Regions from separate parts of the Homo sapiens genome. Here region 2 is linked to region 1. The links are contacts of gene promoters, found by promoter capture Hi-C in blood cells and fetal thymus (Javierre and others, 2016). All regions are on one chromosome and are shown on one strand. The core of a region is centred on a gene start or on the middle of the fragment in contact, and the rest is flanking DNA. Distances in the headings are between cores, read along the strand shown. Region 1 holds the start of RBIS (ribosomal biogenesis factor). Region 2 overlaps ATP6V0D2 (ATPase H+ transporting V0 subunit d2).

Region 1 (4,713 bases), core at 1,476-3,975:
CCTGTGAAGTAGGTAGGACAGGAGTGGAGTCAAGACTCTTTCAGGTTAAAGTGACTAAAAAATAAAATAAAAACAACCCAAAGTAGTTTAAGCTCAAAGAAGGTAATATTTTAGCTCAGGTACTTGAAAAATGAAGGGATGGATCTTTCTTCCATCTATGGCTGAATCCAAGGACTCAAATGATTGCATCAGAGTTCTCTGGTCTGTTCAGTTCTGTCTTCTTGTGTGTGTTGCTCTCATTGCAGGAAGACTTCTTCCAAGTTGCTGGAGGAGATGGCCACTAGTAGCCTTGATTTTATATCATCCCAGCACAAAGACACCAAATGCAAGAGACAGCATTTTCCACCAGCTCTAGCTGGAAAATCCTTAGAGGAGGACTGTAGTTATCAGCTCAACCAGGACAACTTGATCGGAGAAGAGTGGTTATCCAGAAAGGGATGCTGAGCAGATAATCAACGTTCTCTGAAGTGGGTATAATGACTATCTACATGCATATGGGAAAGGGAGGCACAGAGAAATGAAGTAACTTTTCCAAGATCACACGGTTGGTTGGTGGGAGAGGTAAACCAAAAACCCAGGCCTCCTCACTCAGACCTCTGCTCTTGCCTGAATAACCATGTTATTTCGCCACTTCAAAATAAAAGTGAGACCTACCAGTTTTCATAAACACTGTAATGTCGTTCTGTTACATTTATTTCTTTGCCTTCTGTATATATATATCAATAGCCTCACATTCAAAGAACCAAATAATTGTACCCAACTTATTCACCTCAGTATTTGTGAATAACTCTGGCCTTATAAAAAAGTCTAACGGTTTTCTGTTTTTGTTTTGCTCTTACACTTTATGGGCATTTTATACCAGCATTTTTAGGTGTTTTTAACAGGTGGATCGTCAGAAAGAATACAAAAGTTTGAATAAACATACATTGGCAAGCAATTATTCCTCTCCCCTTAGTATATTCTGTTCCTTAATTTTTTTTGTGATGGGCATAATTAAATGATTTATTGCAAAAATTGCTTATCTTTCTGTAAGCAGGCAAGTGCCTGGTTTGTTGGAAAGAGGACTTGACCAAGTGCTAACCAATGTGGATTTGCGAATTATCAAGTTTACAAAACCTTTTTAAAAACTGTTTTAAAAAAATGCTTAGTTTTACAAAACCGTCTGGCTTTGTCAATTTCTAGTTAGTTGTGTGGCTGCCAGCACACGGCTTAAACTCTGAACCTTAGTAGTATCATCACTTGCAAAACAGGAGTGGTTTTATCACCTTATTTTGAGCATAGTGTAGGCTGAAATCTTTTGTAAGCTACAAAATGGCATATAAATGTCAGTTTTACTGACAGAGCAGGAGCACCGTCATCTCGGACAAACACCGCCATTTTTAAGTTCCAGCTCCCTTTCTAGCCTCATGAATTTCAAGGAAATCACTTCTCTTCTAATTACAAGCAGATAGAAAGAGCAGTCAGTAAAACACAGATAAGACAGCTCAGGCAGAGTGAAGTAGGGGGAAAATCTCTTGGCTAACTACCAAACCTCACCCTCATACAATGAGCCCCAGTGAAACAGTGGGCCTTAATAAGCACATTCCTTTCCCTTCAGGTGTACTAAGATAGGGAAGCTAAAAGCAGACTTTTAGCTGCGGGTATGCCTGCAGCTGCAGAAAGATGTATGGGAACAGACACACAACTCTCCCTCCCAGATAAGCACAGCAAAGAGACACAGAAGCAGTCCAAGCCTCTGTTAAACTCTCCCACCCTGAATCCTTAAAAACTCTTAGTCTGTAAGAGAGTGTGGCTCTGACCTAACTTGGCCAGCTGCCAGTCTCAGGTTTATTTAAAATAAACCTGTCCCTGTTGACTATAAAGCCACCCTTCGTGCTTCTCTCCTCTATTTAATTCTTACATCTACGTTTGTTTGAAATCCAGCTTTTCCTATGACCTCAACAAAATAAATAGAGGCACATGTGAAAACTTACCTTTAATAGGGTTATTCTCTTGGAAGAATTGAGTCAATTTTCTTAAAGCAGAAAAACCTAGACGACGTTATGGGTTGAATGTTTTAAGTTCCTTGGTACCTGTTTTATTTGTATATTTTATACTGTGCCTGGTTTCTTGTGCCTTTGCAGTGCTGTCAAAAATTCTCTTTTTGAAACAAGGAAGCTGCAGTGAGAAAAACATTTCTAACTCGCAGTGCATTACAAATCTTCCTTTCGGAGATTATAGCTCTAGATCTTTTCCAACCTCAAGGCTCCCTCTACCGCCAGCCGAGCCCTGGAAACCACCCAGAGGTGCACAGCGCCTCCTCCTGGGAGAGTGGCAGAGTCAGCCGGGAGTCCGCGGCGGAGCGCTGACCTCCGGTGCGGCGGTCTTCACTGTGCAGTCTCAGAAGCACCTCGGGAAGTTTCTGCACAAGTACCCACGCCAGCAAGGGGAGACTTGGCTGGCTCCATAACGCCCCAAACTCGCTTGAGCTGAGGATAAGTCTGCAACACCGCGGAAGACAAGGGATGCTAATGAGACTGGACTTCCGAACCTCGCTCTATGGGTGGGGCTTCGCTTTTTCACTGCACCTTGCTCCTTAGACTTGGCTCTATGGGCGGGACTACGCCAGGTGGGTGGGAACTCACTCTATGGGCGGGACTTCCGCCTATGGACGGGGCTCCGTTCGGTGGGCGGAGCTACGGCTCGTGAGCGGAATCCTGACTGGTTCATCCTCCCCGGAACTTCCTAGACGCCGTACGTGCCAGATGGTGTTACCTGGAGCTTAAAAAGCTGCACGCAAGTGTTAAACTTCTGGTGAGAGTTTAATAAATTAAGTTTTCTGGAGGGCTGGCGTGAAGTTTGCAGGGGTCGGGGTTGGATTGGGCCGGTCTCGTACCGCTGTGGCCTGTAGGCTCGGTTCCGTCGCGCTCTGCCTCAGGCAGCCCTACTGGGTAGCAGGCCCGAAACCCCGGTGCTTGTTGGGCTTTCATCTCCTGACGGGGTCCCAGTTTTGGGCTGTGTCTTTCATGATCAGTTTCTACGTGGTTTTCAGAGAATTTCCCTCCACTCGCACACCCCCACTAGTGTATTACTTTCTCCACGAACCTTGCTCAGGTCTACAGCTCTAGTAAACCTCTCCACTTGTAGACTGTCTGTTCATGGTCCATGTGTATATTATAGGTAGTGTCATGTACAATATACCTATCATGTCTGTGTATGTTCCGTATATATACTGTCATTATTTATGTTCCATATATATTTTTTGTGTATAAAATATAGGTTCTCTACCACACGTGGCATATAGCAATTGATTTATACTAGATGAATGATTGGATTTTGGTTACTATTGTAATTATTTTATTTTAATTTTTATTTATTTATTTTTGAGACTGAGTCTCAGTCTGTCGCCCAGGCTGGTGTGCAGTGGCGTGATCTCGGCTCACTGCAACCTCCGCCTCCTCGTGTCTCAGCCTCCCGAGTAGCTGGGATTAGAGGCGCGCGTCACCACGCCCGGCTAATTTTAATTTTTTTTAGTGGAAACGGGGTTTCATCATGTTGGCCAGGGTGGTCTCGAACTCCTGGCCTCAAGTGATCCGTCCGCCTCGGCCTCCCAAAGTGCTGGGATTACAGGCATGAGCCACCGCGCCCGGCTTGGAATGATTTTAGAGTACTTCATTTGAGGGGTTTTATTATGTGTATTTTATTTTTTGCATCTTCTGTAATAACCATGTATTTTCTACTGCATTCTTTTTTAAGTAGGAGGAATACTGTTGGCGTTCAAAAGCATTGCTGTTTCAGTTAAGTAGTTCCTTAATTACTTACAATGTAGTAAGGCTACATTGAAGGAAGATATAAATTTCAGTCAAGACTACGACTGAGCAAAGGTAAAAAAGGAAGAATGTTCAAGGTGTCTGTGCAAGAGAACAGTTAGACCAGGCTGGCTAGAGCAGTGTTTATAGGGACGTAACAGGAGATATGTGTGGCAGATTTAGGGTAGATTCAGAGTGCCAGTAATATGCCAAGCCAAGGCACGTTGCCCCTTATACATTGGGAAAACTGTTGAAGGTTTTTAACATTGGGAAGGTCGATCGCATAGCTTGGTGCCAGATAGCCACTGTGCAGATGGCTTAAGCCAGGAGTTGGCAGACTTTCTGTTAAAGGTCGGACACTAAATATTTTGGACTTTGTGGGTCATAGTTATAGCAGGAAAGCAGCCATATCAGCATATGATTGAATGGACATAACTGTATTCCAATTAAACTTTATTTTTTAATTAATTAATTTTTTTGAGACAGAGTCTTGCTCTGTCACTCAGGCTGGAGTGCACTGGTGCAATCTTGGCTCACTGCAACCTTCGCCTTCCGGATTCAAGCGATTCTCCTTCCTCAGTCTCCCGAGTAGCTGGGATCACAGGCATGTGCCACCACGCCCAGCTAATTTTTGTATTTGTAGTAGAGACAGGGTTTCACCATGGTGAGGCTGGTCTCTGCCTTCGCCTCCCAAAGTGCTGGGATTATAGGTGTGAGCCACCGCGCCTGCACTTGGCCTCCAATTAAACTTTACTACAAGGACAGGTGCTTGGCCTGATTTGGTCCATGGGCATAGTTTGACAAACAGTGGTTTGAACAAATGGACCTAGGGACTTCAGCAGTAATCCAGTCCTGAACTAAGCAATACTATACCATTTTTTTGTATAGCTTTTATATTTATACATGAAGTGTAATATCACATAAC
Region 2 (4,713 bases), core at 1,427-3,926, 910 kb before region 1:
GCAGGCCTCGGCCTCCCAAAGTGCAGGGATTACAGGCATGAAACACTGTGCCCGGCCAATTTTTTTCCTTTTTTATAGAGACAGGGTCTCCCTGTGTTGCCTAGGCTGGTCTCAAACTCCTGGGCTCAGGCAGTCCTCCCACCTCAGCCTCCCAAAGTGCTGGGATTACAGGCATGAGCCACCATGCCTGGCCAGATTATTCTTTTCAACAAACTTGGCATCACAGGGTGAGAAGAAGTAGACAATTACTGTCTTCACAGGGTCGCTGTGCACACTAAATCAAATTACACATAGGAAAGCAGTTTGTAAATCATAAAGAAGTTGTCACAGTAGGAGCCCAGGCTTTGAAACAGATAAACCTGATTTAAGCCCAGCTCTGCAACTTAAAAACCCTAAGAGTTCAGTTTCTTCAGTTTTGAAATGAAAATATTCATTCAACTTTGAATGGTTGGCATCAGGCTTAGTAACACATATGAAAGCACTCGTAGAGTGCCTTGGATAAAGGAGGACATACACTGTTAGAAGAAGATATTTTCCTGTAAACTGGACTTTGCAGGAAATTATAAGCCACATCATCTTTAATGTAAAACATTTGAAAAGTTTAGTTGAGGTAAGCCTGAGCTTTCTTCATCTCTGTAGTTTTGGATTTAGTTTTAGCTAAGAGAGTTCTTTCTAAATTTACCTATTGCTCTTAGATAATAGGAGATTATCATGTCAGTTGTGGTGTGAAGACAAGAAGCTGAGTGATACAGTCATTTGGAAGGCTGGGACACCAAAAAAGAAGACCATAAATCGTATTACTCAATAGTGTTAAGATACTAGCCCTCAAGTCTGATTTACACCTATTTCATAAAACCTATTACCATCTTGTTTTGTATCTTGTAACCCCAGAGTTGTCTTTGTGTGGTCATTATTTTATATGATGTTTCCTTTAAGTTATCCGAACTTCAAAAAGTTCAATATTACTTCTTTGGAAATGTAATCAGTAATCTCAAAACATTGCTTGCCAACTGTTTGTCAAAACTGATAACAGCTTTCCTGTAAAGAGACCTGAGCCCCTTTGCTAGATGGAGGTACCTCAATACTCAGTCTGAACTTTGTCCTTTGGGCCTGAGAGAACATTTAACTTGGTGATGACAACAGCTTCACTGTGTACACACATTGTGACTAATATTTGGCTTGATCACAGGAGCTACATCCCTTTTATTGTTTGTTTGTTTGTTTATTTATTTATTTTGAGATGGAGTTTCACTCTTGTTGCCCAGGCCGGAGTGCAATGATGTGATCTTGGCTCACTGCAACCTCCACCTCCCAGGTTCAAGTGATTCTCCTGCCTCAGCCTCCTGAGTAGCTGGGATTACAGGCACCCACCACCATGCCCGGCTAATTTTTTGTATTTTTCGTAGAGATGAGGGTTTCACCATGTTGGCCAGGCTGGTCTCTGCCCGCCTCAGCCTCCCAAAGAGCTGGGATTACAGGCATGAGCCACTGCCCAGCTTTATTTTATTTTTTTAGAGACAGGGTCTTTGTCATCCAAACCCAAGTGGCGCAATCATAGCTCACCACAACCTCTAATTGCTGGGCTCAAGTGATCTTTCCACCATGGCCTTCCAAAGTGCTGAGATTACAGGCATGAGCCACTGTGCCTGGCCCAGAAAGCCACATCCTTTTATCAGGCCTTGATTGCTACAGGTTTCCTTTCTACCTAGGAGGCCAGATCCACATCCTTCATCTGCAACATGTAATCTAATTCTTAATGACAACCATTTTGTTTTAGGTGACCAGAGAACTATGTGAGATGTTGGCTAGGTAACAATTATACATACAGAATGTACAAGGATAGGGACATATAATGCATGTTCAGGCTGGGAGCTGTGGCTCATTCCTGTAATCTTAGCACTTTGGGAAGCCAAGGCAGGCGGATCGCTTGAGCTCAGGAGTTTGAGACCAGCCTGGGCAACATGGCAAAGGTGCCTCTCTACAAAAAAGACAGAAATTAGCTGGGTGTGGTGGTGACTGCTTGTAGTTCCAGCTACTCAGGAGGCTGAGGTTGCAGTGAGCCATGATCACACCACTGCACTGCAGCCTGGGTGACAGAATAAGACCCTGTCTCAATTAAAAAAAAAAAAGCATTTCAGGGGTCATTGTTCATGGAAAGGATCGGTGTGTGTGTGTGAAAGGCACCTTTCATTTACGAGTTTCATTGAGGAATTAAATAATTTATAAAAGTACACCAAATATATTTCACACTTTTTCAATGTATGAATTTTCAAATGAAAGTTTTCCTTGATTACATTGGTAAACATTTTTTGTTATACTGTGGATTTGTTCAATCCAGCACTAACCACATATGCTTACATGGGGAAACCCTGTCATATCGCGTGATTTCCTAGTCAGCTGAATTTAGAATATCCCCATAAACATTCTTCTCTCTCTTAAAATTTCACATTTTTGGTAACATTTCTTCCTTCTCTGAAGCTTCCCTTTTTTAAATAGAGGAAGTGAAAATTAAAATAATTTGAAAAAGCAAACAATTTTGCTGTCACACTTGTTTTTCCTTGAAGCAAAATAAAATACTGAAAAGTTACTTACAAGTCAGCATTGCCATAATAGCATATTTTAGAACAAGAATGCTGATAACTTTGCATTTCCCAAGCCCTTGGTTGCTCTGGAATTTTAAGAAACCTCTTCAGTATTTAAGATTCTCTACAATCTTGGTCTAACCCAACTGTTTAGATTAAAAATTCTTCAAACTTAACTTGTCCTTTTCTACATTAATGTCTTGGTTCCTACCCTTCTCCAGAGGTATAAAATTTCCCTTCCTTACCAATCCTTTAAGGCCATATTCTAGTATCATATTTTTCATGAAGCTTTTCAATTGTCTCCAGCTAGAGGTGATATCTTTTTTCTTTCTAAATTTCTGTATTTATATTTATCCTGGGGTGAAATAAATTTTCTATATACATTGGCAGTAGCAGTGATGAACATAAGGACTAGTTAGCTCATTCATTCACAAATATTTAATACATATTTAGTGTGACATAAGGCTTGGATTCCAGTACTAATTCTGCCACTGTAGAGCTGTGTGCTTTTGAGTAAGTCGTTTTACATGTTCATTTCAAACATAGTTATTTACAGATAATAAATAACTATAGGGGAGTGGGAGAGGGAGAGCATCAGGAAGAGTAGCCAACGGATGCTGGGCTTAATACCTAGGTGATGGGATGATCTGTGCAGCAAACCACCAAGGCACACGTTTACTTAAGTAACAAACCTGCACATCCTGCACATGTACACCTGAACTTTATACTATATACAAAAAGATATATATATATATATATATATATATAGGCTGAGCACGGTAGTTCACGCCTATAATCCCAGCACTTTGGGAGGCTGAGGCAGGTGGCTCACTTGAGGTCAGGAGTTCGAGACCAGCCTTGCCAACATGGCAAAACCCAGTCTCTATAAAAATACAGAAATTAGCTGGTCATGATGGTGCATGCCTGTAATCCCAGCTACTCAGGAGGCTGAGGCAGGAGAATCACTAAAACTCAGGAGGTGGAGGTTGCAGTGAGCCAAGATCACACACCTGCACTCTAGCCTGGGTGACAGAGTGAGACTCTGTCTCAGAAAAACAAATAAGTTAATGAATTAAATTAAGTAAATAATACATAAATTAAAAATATATTAAATAAAATATATCTTTATATATTTATGCAAAAATTATAATAGATTACATTTTAAAAGGACAAATTGTGGACAATACATGTATGATCTCACTGTTCTAAAACAAACAATAAGCCCAACTATGCATATTTATATTTGTGTTTAAATATAAACACATGCACATATAAAAAAACATTTTTCACAAGGAAAAAGTTTAGAAAGATATGCATGAAAGTTTTGAGTGGTTACCTCTGGGCTCTGTGACATGAATTCTGAAGTATAGTCTTTACTCAATCCATCGTCTTATTTCTAAAAAGCCAACAATACTAGTACCACTCCATAGGGTTGCTGTGAAAATCTATTAAATTTAATACAGGAAAGTGATTATAAAGGTACTAACTTGTGTAGTGAGCACAAAATACATTTTAGTAAAAAACCTCTTTCATTTTTTAAACACACGTGCTTATTTTCAGTTAAAAAATAAACAAGTTAAAATAAAACTAGGACAATGGATAAGTGTGGATTTCAGTCTCCATCCTGAAAATGAAGGTTATGGGACAGTCTCAAATCTCTTAAACTAAACAACTGGGGAAGGAGTAGTGTTTTGGAAAACAGGTTATTGGGATCAATATCGCCTCCTGGTGGTTGATTGATGCCTTGCCATACAGTTGCCCAAGCCCACCTTGGTACTGATTTGTATCCCACTCAAAACTGTTGTTGTAGCGATGGCATCCTAAGCTCTTTCACATCCATTACCTTAACATCCTCAACCTCAGACGCTGATTTTGCTGACATGTGGCATCAGCAACCCAACAACAGTAGTGGTGGGGCCTGTGTTTTCTGTTCTCTCTGCTGTTTGCCTCTCTCCAGCCATGTCCACCTACAAACGCTTAGCCTTTCAAGCCTTAGCTTGGGCATCACCTCCTTCATGCCACCTTTTCTCACTCACACAGGTGAACATTATACTCAAATACACAAATAAAATTAGCTACATTTTTTGAGCATGTGTATGGATGTGTGGGTATATTTATATATTGTATAAGT

Evidence for each region. Contacts are between HindIII fragments. The CHiCAGO score rates a contact against its expected background, and 5 or more counts as called.
Region 2: a fragment that was not itself captured here is called in contact with the fragment with the promoter of RBIS in region 1 in 1 of 17 cell types (monocytes); the score reaches 6.0 in monocytes.

The regions. Positions count from the first base shown.
Region 1 is chr8:85,218,386-85,223,098 of GRCh38, reverse strand. RBIS (ribosomal biogenesis factor) reads left to right here and starts at 2,725. Exons shown (of 4, transcript NM_001099673.3): 1 at 2,725-2,793. LOC124901969 (a long non-coding RNA gene) reads right to left here and starts at 2,552. Exons shown (of 4, transcript XR_007060985.1): 1 at 1,974-2,552. It overlaps LOC105375936 (a long non-coding RNA gene), which reads left to right. Exons shown (of 3, transcript XR_929126.3): 3 at 246-672. RefSeq lists enhancers at 936-1,705, 2,189-2,428, 2,739-2,868, 2,478-3,249. The HindIII fragment of the contact is 10,198 bases long and covers 1-4,713 here.
Region 2 is chr8:86,124,874-86,129,586 of GRCh38, reverse strand. All of the region lies in intron 2 of ATP6V0D2 (ATPase H+ transporting V0 subunit d2), which reads right to left. Among named protein-coding and RNA genes, the nearest start is that of ATP6V0D2, 28 kb to the right of the region's middle. The HindIII fragment of the contact is 392 bases long and covers 2,481-2,872 here.